2 separate regions of the Homo sapiens genome follow, and region 2 is linked to region 1. The links are contacts of gene promoters, found by promoter capture Hi-C in blood cells and fetal thymus (Javierre and others, 2016). All regions are on one chromosome and are shown on one strand. The core of a region is centred on a gene start or on the middle of the fragment in contact, and the rest is flanking DNA. Distances in the headings are between cores, read along the strand shown. Region 1 holds the start of HDHD2 (haloacid dehalogenase like hydrolase domain containing 2). Region 2 has its middle 180 kb from the start of SMAD2.

Region 1 (3,321 bases), core at 327-2,826:
CTCCACTCACTAGCTGGGTGAACCTGGGCAACCTTCTTAACCTTTTTGCCTCAGTTTCTTCATTGCTAATGTAGAAATAATAACACAACTCTAATGGTTGATAAGAGGATTAAAGAAAGTAATACCTATAAAGAATTGTGAATTGTGTCCCGCTCAGAGAAAGGTTGGGTTATGTATGTGGAGGGCTGGGAGAGAGAAGCAAGGAGGGAACATTATGGATATATCAAGGGCTACAAAAATCACAGGATACACATGATGCAAAGTTCTAAAGCATTAGTATAACTTGAGGATTTGAGAAAACACATCTAAATATATATTATGGCATATTATTCAAAACTTGCATACTTACAACAAGAGATTTTAATACAAATTTTCCCTTGGGAAATTGGGGCGCTACAAAACATGCCTCCTAAAACCCCTGGGAAGTACAAATTTTCTTTCCTTCCCTATATGGTTCCAGACTTTTCTGGAACCACTGTAGGCATTCAATAAATGACGGTATTATTCAGCCACTCCCCAGTTAAAACTCTTCCAGTGACTCCCCGCTGACCTCTGGATAAAGTCTGAACAATGAACACTGGTGGACAGAGTCCTGGTTTACCCTCTCCAACACATTTGTCTCTACTAGCACCCAAGTTCCATGGTACTGCAGGCGGCCAAGAGCTCTACACTTTGCCTCCCTCGTTGCGGGACTTTTGTCTGCAACTACTCGGGCCCCTCTACACCCTCATCTCCTGGCCAATCCCTTTAGCCCTCAGTCTCTGATAACCATCACTTCCTCTGGCGTGCCTCCTCTGGGTCCAACTCCTTTTCTCCCAGAGTTAGGCTAGGAGCCACCTGTGGTCCTACTACATTTACCACTGTCCTGGTTACCAGCCCGCGCCTCTCCTACTAAACTGTTAAGCTCTGTGCATAAGGGACTGTGTTGCCTTTCCCACTGGGTTATTTAGGCGTTCAATAAAGATCGTGAATTAACTCATGAATCCCGGTGTCCACAGCTGGAAGGCCCCAACAACAAACTCTTTCAGCACCAACTCAACTTCCATCCCCCCATCTCTTGGCTGGGAAGGGGCCTCAAGACTGGTCACTGCACTCGGTTCTAAACCAAGTACCAGGGCCTTAAAAACGCCAAACTGACCAGGAGGGACGCTAGCTCCAAAATACAGCCCAAGAGCACGCTTCGAGGAATGACTGACACACTAGCTTCACGATCCGCCCCGCAGAGACCCACAGCGCGCCTCGCGCCCAGCTATGCGCACGCGCGGGGCCACTGCAAAGAGGGCGGTTCCGACGCGGAAAACAGGGAATGCGCACAGAGCAAGAGCGCACGGCCCGGCTCGAGAGGAGGGGCGGCCTGGGGGCGCCACTAGTAGTTCCCGAACCCTGTCACAAAATCTGCAGCCTCCCGGCCCCAATTGCGCTTCTTCCTCTTCAGTCCTACAGCGGCTTCTCACCCACACTCCGTACGCCGTCCTCAGGAAAGGCCCCCGCTAATGGCAAAGCCAGCCACCCGCACTGGCCGCGGGTCCTCAGCCGGGATAGACAGCCCCGCTGCTGCCCGACGGACGCCGGAAGTTGGGCCCTGGCCGCGCCGGAAGCCCCGGATTTCCCGGCTCCGCCCCACCCCTTCGCCCGGGATTTCCGCCGAGGCGGTGCAGCTACCGCGCCGTGTTGTCCTCTGTCTGCACCGCCGCTGACGGAAAGCTAGGCCCTTCTGGAGACCCGCTTTCCCAAGGGCGCGGCCTCCTGGGCCGGGATGCACGAGGAAAAATAATCCCCTGCCTTTCTTCGGTAGCTGTTTTCCAGTCCACAGCACCACTGCTGAACCGAGCGTTACTGAGTAGCGTTCTTTGCCTTCACCCCTCCCTTCCTCTACCACTTGTCCACTCTCGAGGTTTAACTAAGAAGTCATACTTTACTAGACAACCCAATCTCAGAAGTCGTCATTTCCCCCTTAGCTACTTGAATAGTACCTGGCACCTCTTGCTTCCTCCATTAACTACTCCCTCGGGCAGCGACGTCCCTCCTTTCCCTCTTCTCTCCCGATTAGAGCCACTACGGGCCGTGCCTTCCTCTTCCACGGGAGCTCTATCTTGGTACACCCAGAACCACCTCCCTCCCTAACCCGCTGCCACACTCGTGGGGGTCTCTACCTGTCTCCTCTTGATCCAGGTAAGTTATGTGGACCTGAATAATAGAGTACAGAAAAGTCACTCTTATGCACTCACTATGAAAATGACTGAACAACTTTCTGGAGCCGTGTTGACATAATAGGATACTCACTCGGGTTACACCTTATACAAGGGTTATACCCCTTGATAAAACCACTGCTCTGTCCTTGACTAGGGACCCATATATGCCACCCGTATGCCACAATCTAACACCCCCACTACCCAAGGCTGCAGTCAGCCCTGTTAGGAGCTGTGACCCATTCTGTCCCTTGGACTAGGAGCCATCTGCTTTTCCTCCCCACTGGATCTGAAGTTTTTTTGTCTTACTCATATATGCTAAGTTTAAGTTTTCTGTGTGAGGGTCTAATTGGTTGAAGGAAAAAGGATTTGGTCCTAGTTTCCCCTTATGAGCCAGCTGTCTTTGACCAGATTAAGACATCACCAAAGGATTTTAAGTGGGTAATATAAGAAGTGTATTTTTCTAAATGCTTCCTCTGCCTGCAGTATGAATAGATAGGAGAGATGCCAGAATGGGTGAGACCAGATAAGAGACCCACTGCAGGGCCACAAGAGAGATACTTGAACTAGAATGTGTGGAAACAAAGCAAAGAGGATAAATTCATAGGAGGCAAAACAGAAACTGGTGACAGATTAGATTGGGGTTAGGGAGAAGGCATCAATTATCAGGCTCCAAGACTAGGCAATTGGGTAGTGTAACTGATTTTTTTTTTTTTTTGGAGACAGGGCCTCACTCTGTCACCCAGGATGGAGTGCAGTGGCACAATCATGGCTCACTGCAGCCATGACTTCCCAGGCTCAAGGGATCCTCCTGCCTCAGCCTCCCCAGACAGCTGGGACCACAGGTGCACACCACCACAACTGGCTAATTTTGATTTTTGTAGACAGGGTGGGGTCCCACGATGTTGCCCAGGCTGGTCTCAAACTCCTGGGTTAAAGCAATTCTTCCACCTCAGCCTCCCAAAGTGCTGGGATTACAGGCGCGGGCACCAATGCCTGGCCTCATTCAGATTATGTGGAATCATGGGACAGGACTAATGGCTTTCTCCTCTCCAAATGGATCTACTTGATGAAAGGCAAGCTAAGAAGAAATTCAGCCCCTCCAAAGGGAGGGACTGGATTCAGAAAAAAA
Region 2 (3,812 bases), core at 1,153-3,652, 600 kb after region 1:
AGACCCCTCACCGCGGGTCTCAGTTTCCCCATCCATCCTGCTTCCGTCGCAGCGGTATTAGAAGGATCCGGGGACACACGCTTGGGAAAAGTCTAACGGTGTCACAGATGTCAGAGGGAACCCTCTGGCCTCCAGGATCACAGATCTGTCCTCCCCACGAGCCAAGGCCCAGGAGTTCCTCTGCAGTCCGCCTGAACGTTAACACGCAGGGAAAACTTCAGGGAAAACATACAGCTGATAAAAATTTAATGCTATATGTAACAAAGGAGAATGAATATTTAATCCGTGCTTTTATGCGAAACCACATAACCAGGCAGCCCCACGCGGCGCCCCTCCCCTCGCCCGCGCCCGGCAGCGAAGCAGTTAAGCGGCTGGCAACAAGCAGCTCCTAATAAACACTCGGCTAATTCTGTAGGAAAAGCACTAATTAGAAAAGCAATAATAATCGGTGTAATTGCTCTAAATTACCCTCCTAACAGAGAACGGCGCTCGGAGCCGGGAACGCAGCTGCCGCCGCCCAGCCCTGAGCCCCGCGCTTCGCGCCCGCGGCCCTGAGCTCTGCTGACCCCTGGCGGCCGCCGCGCGCCGCGCCGTCTGGACTGCGAAGGGCAGCCGCGCGAAACCCGACGCTCTGGCGCCCCCTGGTGTCCGCGATGCCGCACTGACCCGCGGACGGACGGGAGGCCTACGGATCCAGGATGGCTCCTTCGACTCTCCCCACGCCCCCCGCCCTCTGCTTCTCCCCAGGGCTGCTAAGGAACCAACATCACACTGGCTGGCCCACGCAGGACAGGACAGGGCCAAAACAGTAATGGGATGCGCGAACCTCTAAAGGGTTACTGGAATTCGGGATGCTGTGGATTTAGGGGATTGCTTTGGGCATGGGGTTGATGGAGGGAAGGAGGGCCCTCCTTAAGTGTAGGAGGTCAAGATTTTAGGGATGACATGTTCAGGGGAGAGGGCCAGGACAGGCTGGGCAGGGCTGCTTTTGAGAGGCCTGAAATTAACAAGGACGCTACGCCTTTCTGGTGGATTTGCGGACCACTGATAGGGTCGTTAACAAGAGCCTCCCATACCTGCTACTGGGATGGCCGCTACTGGGCTCGGCCGCAGTTTTCAGGGTAAGTTTGGGCCCTCAGCCTGTGTGTGTCTCAGCCCTCCTCAGACCAAACCACAGTCATTGACTTGGTCTCCCTGCTCAGTTGTCAGTCTGACACAGATACACACATATACACACACATGCACACACACATATACACACATACACACATATACACACATATACATAAACATACATATACATGCTTATACATACATATACATACACACATTTATACAAATATACATACACACACATATACATACACACATTTATACAAATATACATACACACACATACACATACATACACACATACACATATACATACACACACTTATACATACATACACACGTTTATACACACATACACATATATACATACACTTATAAACCCATATACATACACACATTTATATACACATATGCATATACATACACACATTTATACACATATGCATATACATACATTTATACACACATATTCATACACTTATACACACATGCATATACATGCATACACATACATATACACACATACACACAGATATAAACACATATACACATGTATACAAAGATATGCACACACATACACCCATATACACATACACACATATACACATATACATACACACATGCACACGTATACACATGCACACATCTCATATATATGCATACATATACATGTACACATACATATAGACATACACACATGTACATACACACACACACACACACCACACTGGGAGCTGCTGAGGGGCAGGCCCCTCTTGGTGCCTGACGCCTGGAGTAGCCACTCACTAAATGCTGGATGAATCAATACCTGGAACAGGCTGGATGCCCACCTGGGGGAAACAGCACCTAGGGATGGGAAAGCAGGGTGTAAAGCTGTGGCCAAAAGTACCAGCAAGAACCAGAGAGGGATCTAGTGATGCCCCAAGGGACCGAGGACCCTACGGGCTGGGAGGTCAGGAAAGAACCCTGGAGGAGGCAGGGTCTCCACTGGCCCCTGGAAGCTGACACTAGAAGCTTAGAATGAGGACCTGGAAGCTCAGAGGGTTTCTAGTACCCCCCAATCCCTCAGTAAGGGGAACTGGGAGGGGTGGCCTCCAACAAGAATCAAACTACTGCTCCCCTGTCCACCAGCCCTCACATAACCGTGCCCTTTCCCGACACCAAGGCAAAATCCCACCCTCTTCTGTTTTAAAGCAAGCTGAGGGGGGCGGTCAGTGTGAAGGGGGTTGTCCCTCCTACCCACTGCACTGATGCCTTGGCACTGCACTGATGCCCTGCCCGGAACCTGCACTGATGCTCTGGCGCTGCACTGATGTCCGGGACCTGCACTGATGCCCTGGCAGTGCACTTTCTGCCTGGGACCTGCAGACTTCCCACATGCTCCTCATCTCCACCTGCCAATCATCAACCACATGGAGTCCGCTGAGAGTCTTGCTCCTCCTGCCTCTGCCCTCAGGCCTGGGACCTGAGTACTTCAGTGCTGAAGAAAACCGACCAAGGAGTCCTGGCTGGAAACCAAGCCATGTGCTGTCCTGCCAACCCCCATGCATCCTCCCCACAAGGCTGAAGCTTTTGCTAGAAAACACCCCACATGGTTAGAGAATGGGTGTTAATGACATGAAATGGGCACTCCCTCCCCAGAAAGCCTTCCCTGGCTTACTCATCATTACAGGACAACCTTGGAATCTATGGCATAACCTGACAGATATGGCTTCTCCATCATATGATTGATCTAAATCAGTGGTTTCAGAGGGAGCCTCTTGCTGGCAGGTTATATCCATGGGTCTCAGCGGGAAATGTGTGGATGAGGAGGGGACAAGGCCTTTTGGGTACCACCCCTCCTTAAACAAGCAGCTCCACCTTCACATCTACAGAGGCCATACAGCCTGGTAACCACATGCCTAGGCTAGGAACCAGGCTACCTGGGTTCAATTCCTAGCCTTTTCACTGACACTGTGTGACCATGAGCAAGTTTCTTAACTCCTCTATGCCTCATTTTCCTCATCTATAAATTAAGATGTTAGTAGTAACCTAACTCAAAGGATTGTTGGGAAAAGTAATTGAATTAACACAGGTAAAGTGTCTGGCATACGGTAAACGCTCAATGAATGTTAGCTATTAATATTAACTGGTGTATACAATGGAATTCTACATATGCTTGAAATAAGACCAAAACATGTTTGAAAACCCACTAGATTTCATGATCTCCAAGGTCCCTTCTGGCTCTAAAATTCAATAATTTTAAGGTGATATCTTTTAACTGTCACTTTTGCATCTCCAAGCCCTAGCACCTGCTGTTCTCTGCCAGATACACCATTTCCTACTGTCTGCCTAGTGAACGCTGACTTCTCCTTCCTGCCTCAGTTTAATAGCTGCCTCCTCCAGGAAGCATTCTCTCCCTGCTCCAGGCAGAATCGGTCCAGTCTTTCCTTCCCACATGTTCCTTGCACACTTTTAAAATAATACAGAGTCCCTGATACCTATGCTGTCCCATGCTTCTGTTTCCTTTTTGCCCTCTTGCAGGACCCACAGACTCCTGGAGAGCCTACTCATGTCTATAGCCCCCATGCCTGGCCTAGAACAGGCAATTGCCTAGAACAGGCAATGTACTCATCAGTTTTTTGTTTTTTGTTTTTTGTTGTTTTCTTTGAGATGGAGTCTTGCTCTGTCACCCAGGCTGGAGTGCAATGGCATGATCT

Evidence for each region. The method cuts DNA at HindIII sites, captures the fragments that hold promoters and counts their contacts. A CHiCAGO score of 5 or more calls a contact.
Region 2: a fragment that was not itself captured here is called in contact with the fragment with the promoter of HDHD2 in region 1 in 1 of 17 cell types (M0 macrophages); the score reaches 5.2 in M0 macrophages.

The regions. Positions count from the first base shown.
Region 1 is chr18:47,148,924-47,152,244 of GRCh38, forward strand. HDHD2 (haloacid dehalogenase like hydrolase domain containing 2) reads right to left here and starts at 1,577. Exons shown (of 7, transcript NM_032124.5): 1 at 1,455-1,577. RefSeq lists an enhancer at 986-1,045. The HindIII fragment of the contact is 10,382 bases long and covers 1-3,321 here.
Region 2 is chr18:47,748,713-47,752,524 of GRCh38, forward strand. No RefSeq gene overlaps it. Among named protein-coding and RNA genes, the nearest start is that of SMAD2, 180 kb to the right of the region's middle. RefSeq lists a silencer at 475-654. The HindIII fragment of the contact is 555 bases long and covers 2,126-2,680 here.